Regions from separate parts of the Homo sapiens genome. Here region 1 is linked to region 2. Evidence: promoter capture Hi-C in human tissues and cell types (Jung and others, 2019). All regions are on one chromosome and are shown on one strand. Each heading gives the region's core, a stretch centred on a gene start or on the middle of the fragment in contact. The rest is flanking DNA. Distances are from core to core; before and after follow the strand shown.

Region 1 (6,259 bases), core at 1,009-3,508, 1.2 Mb before region 2:
TCCTTAGGATTCCAAGAACAGGGTGGTTTTTTTCCACCACAGGACAAGGATGAGAACCTCCAAGCTGTGATGATAAAGGACAGGCAGGGCCATGTGTGGACAAGGATGGGCTGCTGCCACGTCCAGAGTGTTCTCTCCTAGCAACGCCGCCATCTCCTTCCTCACACTGTGGTATTTGTCAGATGGGAAACATGCCTAGAATTTATCTTTGACATATGGATGGAAGCCCAGGCTAGAGGCATTTGACAGCTTATTTCTGAACCTACTTCTTTAAGGAATGCCCAGATCCCTTGCTCTGCTTCCTGGTTCTTAACCCCTTTAGCTCCCTTCCGCTCCTGCACCCATGCACTGCCTCTTTACGGCCACTTCCCCACACCCTTCACTGTAGCACCATTTTCTTGGGCTCCTTGGAAATATCACAGCTTTGGTTTAACTCACAGATCAGGCACACTCATGGGCCCCTCCAGAGGTTCTCGATTTCCCTCCCTCAGGCTCCTCCCTGGGGTCCTAACTTGGCCATCTCTATCCTCTCTTCTCAGCCTGGCCATCCACAATCCATCCCATCTGGACTTGTGTATAGCACTGGGTTAACTCAGCAGGTATGAATTGTTCAAACCCTGCACATTCCTAAAAAATAACTAAAAAAAAAAAAAAACTTTTGTTCATTTATTGCTGTTACCTACTGTGATGAGATCTCCGAGTCCATAAAATATTGCACCTGATAACAGTGTCTGTGGATGTCTGTAGCCTTGGGACATGCGGTACAAGTTTAATCAGTGATTTATAGTGAATGTCTACTTTTGTTTTGCTGGAGAGGGCTGTCGTCTGAGTATTGTGGTCAGTTCCCCAGGTGTTCCATAGTCTATGATTCATTCCCCAAACACAGCCCTGGACAAGAGAGCTCAGCGGCACTCCCCTTGTTGTCAACACTTCACACAAGCCATCTTACCTCACAGCTGAACAATTACACATGTGTAGAAGGCTCCACTGTGAGAGGACACCTGAGAGCTTGTGCCTGGATTCTCCAGGGCTTCACTCCTTGTGCCTTTTGTCTTTACTTATTTTAAATTGTATCATTTTTCTGTAATAAACTGTTCCTGTGAATAGAACAGTTATGAGTCCTATGTTTTTACTGATTTTTCAGCCTACAGGTGGCAGATGAGAACTCTCAACACAGTTGTGTTAGAAGAAGGATTTCCTAGAGAGACCCTGACTCAATGATGATACATGGCTGAAGCATTGCATGGAAAACGTAAGTGTTCAGGTATGGAATGGCAAAATTTGATACCTGGGGAGTGACAGAATACTACAGTCTATTACAGCAGCTGAGCTGAAATCGGTTTCTGGAGGTAAATGGGATTTAGAAATTATAAATCCAACTCCCAAGGAGCTGGCTCAATCAATACATAATGAAATGTGAAATGATTAGAAATAGCCTACATATGCAATTTCCATCTGTGAGAACTAAGTGAAAATCCAGGAGAGAGTTGGCAGGGAGAGGGATACTGCACCAACCTCAGATTTTGACCATTTTCATTTAGGGCTGATGGGCTCATGACCACTAGAGTTAGCAATTACACTGTGATAAAAGATAAAAGCTTCACAAACTCTACCCACCCAGAAGGGGGCTCAGGTGGTGAAATAGGGAGGGTAAGGCATGAAACGACTGAAATATGGGAGGATAGTGAGATGGGTTCTCTCTTTTTGAGTTTTATCTTTTGCTTCTTTACTAATTTTTGTTAATCTGGATTTGGAGAATGACTAGTGTAAAAGTGGATTCTGTTTTGAGTCCCTTAGAATGGAGGAGAATGTGTGGGCCAATGTTGTGCCCAGAGACTACTACAGAACAATAGTAGATGAATGTACATGACCCAAACACAAAGCTTTGTGGTTGCTGATGGGAGAGCTGCACTGCCCTGGCCTACTGGATAACAGCTTCTCCAAAGTGTATTTACCCTGACAATGGAGATTGCCTTTCTCTTTTAAGTGAAAAAAATGGAACACTACAATAAAGTAGTGGTAATGCTGTGTGTGTATGTATAAGACATTCTGGAGTGGGTTTGTGATAATTGGGATATGTATCACTTATCCTTTTATTTGTATAAATTTATGGGGTGAAAGTGCCGTTTTGTTACATGGATATATTGTTGAGGGATAAAATCTGGGCTTTGAGTATAGCCATCATCTGGATGGTGTATATTGTACCCATTAAGTAACTTCTCATCCCACATGCCACTCCCACCCTCCCAACCTTCCAAGTCTCCAATATTTCTTATTCCACACTCTGTATCCATGTGTACATATTATTTAGCTCTCACTTATATATGACATGTGGTATTCAACTTTATTCTTCTGAGTTCTTTAACTTAAGATAGTGGCCTACAGTTTCATCCATGCTACTGGAAAATACATAATTTCATTCCTTGTCTATTATTGAGTAGTAATTAAATGTGTATATGTACATACACATGTATAGTGTGTGTATGTGTGGGGATGTGTGTGTACATATATGTATATGTATGAACATATACGACTGTTTCCTTTATCTAATCATTTACTAATAGAAACTTAGTTTGGTACCATGTATTTGCTATTGTGAATAGAGCAGCAATAAACATATAAATGCAGGCATCTATCTGATATAATAATTTATCTTCCCTTGGGTAGATACCCAGTAGTGGGACTGCTGAATGAAATATTAGTTCCAATATTAATTATTTGCAAAATCTCCATACTGTTTTCCATAGAGCTTATAGTAATTTACATTTCCACTAGCAGTGTATAAGCACTCCTGCTTCTCTGCATCCTTACTAGCATCTGTTTTTTGTTTTGTTCCATTTTTCTTTTTGACTGTTTTAATAGTAGCTTTTCTGACTGGTATAAGATGGTATCTCACTGTGTCTTTAAATTGCATTTTTCTGATGATTAATGTCATTGATTATTTTTTCATATGCTGGTTGATGATTTTTTTGTCTTTTGAAAAATAAACATTGTAGTAATTTGCTCATTTTTAATGTGGTTATTTGTGGGTTTTTGTGTTGCTTTTGTTTCTTGTAGTTTGTAAATATTAGCTCTTTGTCAGATACAGAGTTTAAAAATAGTTTATCCCATTCTGTACGCTTTCGGTTAAGTTTTTTGATTATTTGTTTTGCTGTTCAGATGCTTTGCTTCTTATTTGTATTAAGTCCAAATGGTCTATTTCGGTTTTTATTGTTTACTTTTAAGGTTGTAGTCATGAATTCTTTGCCTAGGACAATCTCCAGAACAATATTTCCTAGAATAGCATCTGCAACTTTCAGACTCTCAGGTCTCCCAGTTAAGTCTTTTATCCATATTGGCTTAATTTTGGATATAGTGAGAGATACGGGTCCAGTTTTATTCTGCTGCAAATGGCTGTTCAGTTTTTCCTGCACAATTTATATAACAAGGTGACCTGTTCCCAGTGTATGCTTCTTGTCTAGTTTTTCACAGTCAGTTTGGCTGCAGGCATTTGACTTTATTTATGAAATGTCTATTCTGTTCCACTCATCTATGGCTTTCTGCTAGATTGTTACTTGATTGTTACTTGTGTATAATAATGCTACTGGTTTTTGTATGCTTTTTTCATTTATTCTAAAACTTTACTGAATTAACTCATCAATTCTAGGAGTATTTTGAAAGAATATTAGTTTTTTTAAGTACAAAATCATATTATCAGCAAACACAAAGAGTTTGACTTCCTCTTTTCCAATTTGAGTGCCTTTATTTCTTTCTCTTGCCTAATTTCTCTGGCTAGGATTTCAAGTTCCATATTGATTAAGAGTGGTGAAAGTGGGCATCCTTGACGTGTTCTGAGTCTTAGGAGGAATACTTTCAACATATTCCTATTCAGTATAATGTTGTTTCGGAGTTTGAAGGTGATTTATGGAGAATGAGAGATGTTGAGTGCGAGTGGACATGAGTGAGAGAAACAGTAGATATGTGTGGCCGTTTCTGACCAGGGTGTCTCTGTGTTTGCAGGCGTCCAGCGTGAGGCGCAGCTGGTGGAGTCTGGGGGAGGCTTGGTACAGCCTGGGTGGGTCCCCGAGACTCTCATTTGCAGCTTCTAGATTCACCTTCAGTGACTTCTGAATGCACTGGATCCGCCAGGCTTCTGGGAAAGGGCTGGAGTGGGTTGGCCGTATTAGAACCAAACGTAACAGTTACACGACAGAATGCGCTGCATCTGTGAAAGGCAGGTTCACCATCTCAAGAGATGATTCAAAGAACACACTGTATCTGCAAGTGAATACCCTGAAAACCGAGTACACGGCCATCTATTACTGTACTAGAGACAGTGAGGGGGAGGTTAACGTAGGCCCATACACAAATCTCCCTGCAGGGGCGCGCAGGGCCAACTGGGGGCGCTCGGGACCCACTGAGGATGGGACAGGTCCCAGGGGCGGGTGCAGGGGGAGGTTTCCTTTCTCAGCTGCAGGAGGCGGGTTTGTTTTTGCAGGAATATGGAGTCTTATGAGGTTTTGATATTTTACTATGGTTATTTATCATGATTTTTTAAAATTGGGATTTGTGTTTTAGTAATTTTTAAATTTATATGTAGGGGTATTTTTAAAAATTAAGTTTTAGGGTACATGTGCACAACGTGCAGGTTTGTTACATATGTATACATGTGCCATGTTGGTGTGCTGCACCCATTAACTCGTCACTTAACATTAGGTATATCTCCTAATGCTATCCCTCCCCCCTCCCCCCACCTCACAACAGGCCCCGGTGTGTGTTCCCCTTCCTGTGTCCATGTGTTCTCATTGTTCAATTCCCACCTATGAGTGAGAGCATGCGGTGTTTAGTTTTTTGTGATTGCAATAGTTTGCTGAGAATGATGGTTTCCAGCTTCATCCATGTCCCTACAAAGGACATGAACTTATCATTTTTTATGGCTGCATAGTATTCCATGGTGTATATGTGCCACATTTTCTTAGTCCAGTCTATCATTGTTGGACATTTGGGTTGGTTCCAAGTTTTTGCTATTGTGAATAGTGCCACAATAAACATATGTGTGCATGTGTCTTTATAGCAGCATGATTTATAATCCTTTGGGTATATACCCAGTAATGGGATTGCTGGGTCAAATGGTTATTTCTAGTTCAAGATCCCTGTGGAATCGCCACACTGACTTCCACAATGGTTGAACTAGTTTATAGTCCCACCAACAGTGTAAAAGTGTTCCCTATTTCTCCACATCCTCTCCAGCACCTGTTGTTTCCTGACCTTTTAATGATTGCCATTCTAACTGGTGTGAGATGGTATCTCATTGTGGTTTTGATTTGCATTTCTCTGTACCCTAAAACTTAAAGAATAAAAAAAATCCTTCAAAAATAATTCTTCCTAATAATATGCACTTATTCTCCTAGGTTGTATTAACATCTGTTGATATCTTCAACTACATAGCTATGGCGACATTAATTTACATCTGTAGACATATGTGTAAATACACAAACTTATGCATACATGTCTAGTCTTTTATATTTAATATAATAAAATCATTATAAAATATGTCCTAATGAATGAAACTTAATGATTAACTAAATATAAATTATAGTAATCCATTATTCATTGCAATGATTCTCTATAGTTTACATAAATTGGTATCTATTTGTAAGCTTAAATATAGTGTATTGGTCATTTTAAAATGGCCAAGAACAAATTTCAAATGTCCCTGTCACACAAACACACACAATAAGGATTTGAGGATTTGAGTTGATATATATGTCAATTAGCTAGATTCAGTTATTCCATATTGCATTCATAAATCATAACATAGCTTTGCACTCTATAAATACATAGTCAAAATTTCTCAATTTTCAATGAAATTTTAATTATACATTTTTTAATCCGTCCTAGGTCATGATTTTTTTCTCCCTGTCAGGATATGATTAGATTGTCCTGAGAAACTCATTCAGCCTCCTGCCTCCTGAAGGCTTCAAAGGCTTCAGGAAGTAAGCTCCTGGATGGGCAGAAGCAGGCAAATCTTTCATGTGCACAGGACCTGGAGCATCTCTCTTTGGATTAAGCCCCCTCCTCAGGATTACAGGGCTCTTCATTTTTCTCAACAGGCTGTTGTACCAGATAAGCACAAAAACTTAATTTCATTATGCTTTGCTTTTTTTAAAAAAAAAAAATGAAGGTAATAATTTTAACAATAAACATATTACAACCTGCTACACATGAGACCCTTCTTGTGCTTCGACCTTTCTTCTCAGGAGTTTATATGTATTACATA
Region 2 (6,575 bases), core at 2,159-4,658:
TCAAGCAATTCTCCTGCCTCAGCCTCCCGAGTAGCTGGAACTACAGGCGCCCACCATCACACCTGCTAATTTTTGTATTTTTTGGAAAGATGGGTTTCACCATGTTGGCCAGGACGGTCTTGATCTCTTGACCTCGTGATCTGCCCTCCTCAGCCTCCCAAAGTGCTGGGATTACAGTCCTGAGCCACCGAGCCTGGCTGAAACCACACCCTTTAAACCTCTTACCGTTGTGGGTGTGGTCTTCCCCACCCTCTGCTCCTCTGGCCAATCCTGTCCTGTACAGCCTGACTGTCCTGTACTGCCTGACTGTCCTGCACCGCTGTGGCCTGGGAGGCATGCTGCCCCTTGCACCTGCAGGCACCTCACAGGCTTTGGTGAGGGAGCACACGAAATAACCCCTCTAGTCTGTCAGGTGAGAGCAAGGATCCAGTGGCCACATGGCCTCAGATTGGATTCTGGCTTTGTTACCTACTGGCTATGAGATTTGGGGCTGTCACCCCTCACATCCTCAAGGGCTCCCTCCATAAAATGGAGACAACAGTGTCTGCAAGCTAGTGTTGCCATAAGGATGAAATGTCATCATGGACAGAGAGCATTTTGCATAGAGATCAATAATACATATTTGAAAAATCCCCAACATTTAGAAACAAAACAATACACTTCCTAATAACCCTTGGATCCGGGAGGAAATTAAGAGTGGAGACAATCTTGAGCTGAATGAAAATGAAAACACAGCACATTGAAATGTGCAGGATTCAGCTAAAGTGGTAATTACAGGGAGAATTATAGCAATAAAATGCCTATTTATAAAGGAAAAGAGATCTTAAATCAATGATTTCATCTTTCACCTTAAAAAACTAGGAAAAGGCCAGGCGCGATGGCTCACGCCCATAGTCCCAGCACTTTGGGAGGGCGAGACAGGTGGATCACGAGGTCAGGAGATCAAGACCATCCTGGCTAACACAGTGAAACCCTGTCTCTACTAAAAATACAAAAAATTAGCCAGGCATGGTGGTGGGCACCTGTAGTCCCAGCTACTTGGGAGGCTGAGGCAGGAGAATGGCATGAACCCGGGAGGTGGAGGTTACAGTGAGCCAAGATCGCACCACTGCATTCCAGCCTGGGTGACAGAGCGAGACTCCACCTCAAAAAACAAAACAAAACAAAAACTAGAAAAAGGGGCCGGGTGCATTGGCTCACGTGTAGAATCTCAACACTTTGGGAGACCAAGACAGGTGGATCACTTGAGGTCAGGAGTTTGGGACCAGCCTAGCCAACATGGTGAAACCCCATCTCTACTAAAAATACAAAAATTAGCTGGGCGTGGTGGCACATGCCTGTAATTCCAGCTACTTGGGAGGCTGAAGTGACAGAATCACTTGAACCTGGGAGGTGGAAGTTGCAGTGAGCTGAGATGGCACCACTGAACTCCAGCCTGGGTGTTCTCTATCTCAAAAAAAAAAAAGAACTAGAGAAAGGGCGGGGAGCAGTGGCTCATGCCTGTAATCCCAGCACTTTGGGAGGACAGGGCGGGGAGCAGTGGCTCATGCCTGTAATCCCAGCACTTTGGGAAGACAAGGCGGGTGGCTCACTTGAGCCCAGGAGTTCCAGACCAGCCTGGGCAAATGAGGCAAAAACCCATCTCTACAAAAAATATTATCTGGGTGTGGTGGCACATGCCTGTAGTTCCAGCTACTCGGGAGGCTGAGGTGGGAGGATCACCTGAGCCCAGGAGGTAGAGTCTGCAGTGAGGCTTGATTATGCTACTGCACTCCACCTTGGGTGACAGAATGAGACACTATCTCAATTTTTAAAAAATGAAGAAACTAGAAAAAGGGAACACATTGAACCAAATTAAGTGGAAAGAAGGATCTAACAAAAATGAGAGCAGAAATTAATGAAATAGGGCCATGCACGGTGGCTCATGCCTGTAATCCCAGCACTTTGGGAGGCTGAAGTGGGCGGATCACCTGAGGTCGGGAGTTCAAGACTGGCCTGACCAACATGGAGAAACCCCGTCTCTACTAAAAATACAAAATTAGCCAGGTGTGGTGGTGCATACCTGTAATCCCAGCTACTCGGGAGGCTGAGAGAGGAGAATCGCTTAAACCCAGGAGGCAGAGGTTGCAGTGAGCCGATATCTCACCACTGCACTCCAGCCTGGGCAACAGAGCAGAGACTCCGTCTCAAAAAAAAAAAAAAAAGAAAGAAAAAAAAGAGGGTGGGGTCTTCCGCATTTCCTTTTTTCTCTTTTTTTTTTTTGAGACAGAGTTTCACTCTTGTCACCCGTCACCCAGGCTGGAGTGCAATGGCGGGATCTCAGCTCACTGCAACCTCCACCTCTCAGGTTCAAGTGGTTCTCCTGTCTCAGACTCGCGAGTAGCTGGGATTACAGGCGCCCACCACCAAGCCTGGCTAATTTTTTTGTATTTTTAGTGGAGACGGGGTTTCGCCATGTTGGCCAGGCTGGTCTCGAACTCCTCACCTTACGTGATCCGCCTGCCTTGGCCTCCCAAAGTGCTGGGATTACAAGCGTGAGCCACTACGCCTGGTTACGCATTTCTTTTTAGGCTCATTCCTGGGTATGTCACCGGCCCTATGGCGATTGTGAACAGCACCTGCAGATATTTGAGGGCGTGCGCAGCCAGGGTTCCCGCTCTGGGCAGGGGGCACAGCGAGGTGACTCACGGGTAACCACAGGTGGCCACGAATGACTGCTAGAAAGTGGGAATTTTAGGGGAACAGAAAACGGAGAATAGCGGGGCGCACGGGGAGGCTCTGGAACCTGGGCGAGCGGAGCGGCGGACGCCGCAAATGCGGAGGGCGGGGCAGGGTGGCCCCTGGCGGGTGTCTCCACCTCTGCGGCCAGGCCCCCCAGCGCAGCTGCCCTGGCCCCGCCCACCACTCCCAGAGCCCGGGGTTGGGTCCCAGGTCGCCCTCAGGAGCCAAGGCCCCGCCCACCACGCTCGGCCCCCTCGCCTCAAGCCCCGCCCACAGTTCGGGTCCAGACCCAGGCTCCGCCCCCTTCCCCCGCCCACAGCTCCAGTTCCCTTCGCAGGCCGTCTCTCCACGGGAGGCCCCGCCCCCCACCCTCAGCCCCGCATCCGGCTGAGTCCTCACCCCAGGCCTCGCTCGCCGCTGGAGACCGCGCTCACTATCCGAGGAGGACCCTCCTCTGCCCCGCGTCCAGCTTTAGTCCCCGACTGCGTTCATCGCCAAGGGCCCGCCCACTGCCTTAGGTCGCGTCGCCAGCCTTGGGTCCCGTCGCCAGCCTTGGGTCCCGTCCCCGGCTGCACTCACCGCGAGGCCCCACCCTTAGCTCTAGTCCCCGGTGTCGCCCACCGACGAGGCCCCGCCCCAAACTCCAGTCCCGGGCTGCGCTCACCGCCGTGGCCCCGCCCCCAAGCGCCAGTCCTCGGCTGCGCTCACCGGTAGGCCCCGCTCGGGTTCCGCCGAAGCCCAGCCCCCGCAGGTCGCCCCTCCGACGCCGGCGCGCCGCAAGGGAGGCCAGCTCGCTCGCAGTGGGGAGGTCGCGGCTCCAGTCCTCGCGTCCCCGCCGTGGTCCCGGTGCCTGTCCCATCCCGCGGGCGCGGCCGTTGCGGGCGGCGCGGCCCGGGCGCGCGCGGCGAATCTGCGGCTGCGAATCGGCTGGAGCGGGGCCTCGCGAGAGCGGCGAGGCCTGGGCGGCTGGGCCTGGGCGGGCGGCGCGGGCTGCTCCGGAGGCTCGGGTGGCTTGAGAGTCTTGGGAGGCTCCGGGCGCTGCCCGCGCGGTCGCCGGCATGACGGGCCGCGTGTGCCGCGGTTGCGGCGGCACGGACATCGAGCTGGACGCGGCGCGCGGGGACGCGGTGTGCACCGCCTGCGGCTCAGTGCTGGAGGACAACATCATCGTGTCCGAGGTGCAGTTCGTGGAGAGCAGCGGCGGCGGCTCCTCGGCCGTGGGCCAGTTCGTGTCCCTGGACGGTGAGTCCCGCGGGCTGGCGCTGCGCGGATTTCTCGGTGCGGCTTAGGCGGGCTGGAGGCGGTGACGGCGCGGCCGGGACCAGCGCCTCGGTACCGCACGCTCTGTCGGGGCGCGCGGTTCTGCGCCGTCTGGGCGCGAGTGTGGATCCCCTTGGCGAGAATGTAGACCTTCTTCGCGCGCCTGTGGACCCCCGTGGCGTGCGTGGACTTCCTCGACACACGCGTGGGCCAGGGCAGCCAGCACAGGGAGGGTTGAAGAGAGCCTGGGGAGCCCAGAAGGCCCCTCAAGCTGCCCCTCACTGTCACTCTCTGTGCCTGCAGTTTTGTTTTCAGCAATGTCTGGTACTTAGAATCCGATTGCTGCTGCCCTTGGCCTTGGTGGTTACCGGGCGGATGCCCTAGGGCCACTCAGGCTGCTGCAGGCCTCGGAGGGGACGTTTCAGTGATGGGCAGTATTGCGGGCTGGGGATGGACCCCAGCCTGTGGAAGGAGCTGGACTGTGGCCAGTTTCAGGTGGTTGTGAATAGAGCTGCTAAAAGGATTCATTTGCAGCTCTCTGTGTGAACATACGTTTTCATTTCTCTGGGGAACTTAGCTGTATGTGTAACTCTATGGGAAACTGTCATGAACTGTTTTGTGATGTGGCTGTGCCATTATGCATTCTCACCAGTTGCCCCACATCTTCACCAGCACTTGGTGTTGTCGATGTTTTTATTTCGGTTGTTCTAACAGGTGTGTGGCATCTCATCATAGTGGTATTCTGTATTTCTCTACTGGCTAGTGATGTTCAACCTTATTAGGGTGCTTATTTGCCATGCCCGAATCCTCTTTGTTGAAATGTGTGCTCAAGTCTTATTTTTTTATTTATCTCGAGACAGGATCTCACTCTGTGGCCCAGGCTGGTGTGCAATGGCCCAGTCATGGCTCTCTGCAGCCTTGAACTCCTAGGCTCAGGCAATTCTCCTGCCTCAACCTCCTGAGTAGCTGAGACTACAGGTGCATGCCACCATGCTGTGATCATTTATTTTATTTTATTTTTAGTAGAGACAAGGTCTCTATGTTGCCCAGGCTGGTCTCAAACTCCTGGGCTCAAGTGATACTCCAGCCTTGGCCTCCCGAATTGCTGGGATTACAGCGTGAGCCACCACACCCTGACTCTCATTTTTTATTTGGGTTGTTTTCTTATTGTTGAGTTTTGGGAGTTCTTTGTGGATTGTAGTTACAAGCCCTTTGTTGTATATGTGATTTTCAAAGCAGAAGTTTTTTTTCTTTTGAGATGGAGTCTTGCTCTGTTGCCCAGGCTGGAGTGCAGTGGCTCGATCTCGGCTCACTGCAAGCTCTGCCTCCCAGGCTCACGCCATTCTCCTGCCTCAGCCTCCCGAGTAGCTGGGACTACAGGAGCCCACTACCATGCCCGGCTAATTTTTTTTGTATTTTTTAGTGGAGACGGGGTTTCACTGTGATAGCCAGGATGGTCTCGATCTCCTGACCTCGTGATCCGCCTACCTCGGCCTCCCAAAGTGCTGGGATTACAGGCGTGAGCCACTGCGCACGGCCTCAAAGCAGAAGTTTTAACTTTTTTTTTTTTTTTGAGACAGAATCTTGCTCTGTGGCCCAGGCTGGAGTGCAGTGGCACAATCTCGTTTCACTGCAACCTCTGCCTCCCAGGTTCAAGTGATTCTCGTGCCTCAGCCTCCCAAGTACCTGGGATTACAGGCGTGCGCCACCTCACTTGGCTAATTTTTGTATTTTTAGTAGAGACAGGGTTTCACCCTGTTCGTCAGGCTGGTCTTGAACACCTGACCTCAAGTGATCCGCCTGCCTCAGCCTCCCAAAGTGCTGGGATTACAGGCGCGAGCCACCGCACCTGGCCTAAATCTGTGGTCCATCTATGTTTTGTATAAGGTGTGCTTTGTAGGCTGAGGCTCATTGTTTATCTGGAGGTCCCCTTGTTTCAACACCGTTTGTTGAAAGACTGAAGGCCTTTGCTCCCTCGGCTGTGCTCACTGGGCCCCGTCCGTGCAGGTCTGTCTCTGGGCCTTGTGTCCTGCCCTGTTGATCAGGTGCCGTTTTCCTTTGTCAGCATCACACGCTTTTTTACTATACCTGTTATATTGTCCTGAAATCAGATATTGTGAGTCCCTCAACCTTTGTTCTTCCTTTTCAAAGTTGTTGTGGCTATTAATTTCCCTTTCTCTTTTTAATTTTAGAGTAAGTTTGTGCATCTCTGCAGGTCACATATTCTTACCTGAAATGCTTGGGACCAGAAGTGTTTTGGATACCAGAGTTTTCTGATTTTGGAATATCTGCATTATAATTACTGGTTAAGCATCCCTAATCGAAAAATCTGAAATCTGAGATGCTCCAGTGAGCATTTCCTTTGAGCATCGTGTTGATACTCAAAAAGTTTCATGTTTTGGAGCATTTATTTTTTATTTTATTTTTTTCTTGAGACGGAGTCTCGCTTTGCTGCCCATGCTGGAGTGCAGTGGCACTATCTCGGCTCACTGCAAGCTCCGCCTCCTGGCTTCACGCCATTCTCCTGCCTCAGCCTCCCAAGTAGCTGGGACTACAGGCGACCGCCACCACGCCCGGCTAATTTTTTGTATTTT

The links. Contacts are between HindIII fragments. The study calls those that stand out against the background at their distance.
Region 1: a fragment that was not itself captured here is called in contact with the fragment with the promoter of BRF1 in region 2 in 1 of the 25 tissues and cell types used here (lymphoblastoid cells).

The regions. Positions count from the first base shown.
Region 1 is chr14:106,461,308-106,467,566 of GRCh38, reverse strand. It overlaps IGH and the pseudogene IGHV3-42. Among named protein-coding and RNA genes, the nearest start is that of LINC00221, 18 kb to the left of the region's middle. The HindIII fragment of the contact is 3,007 bases long and covers 755-3,761 here.
Region 2 is chr14:105,297,834-105,304,408 of GRCh38, reverse strand. It overlaps BRF1 (BRF1 general transcription factor IIIB subunit), which reads left to right and starts at 3,408. Exons shown (of 18, transcript NM_001519.4): 1 at 3,408-3,963. The coding sequence starts at 3,780. It also overlaps the pseudogene LOC124903409 and a transcript of PACS2 not described here. RefSeq lists silencers at 2,727-3,096, 3,327-3,736 and an enhancer at 4,587-4,666. The HindIII fragment of the contact is 16,575 bases long and covers 1-6,575 here.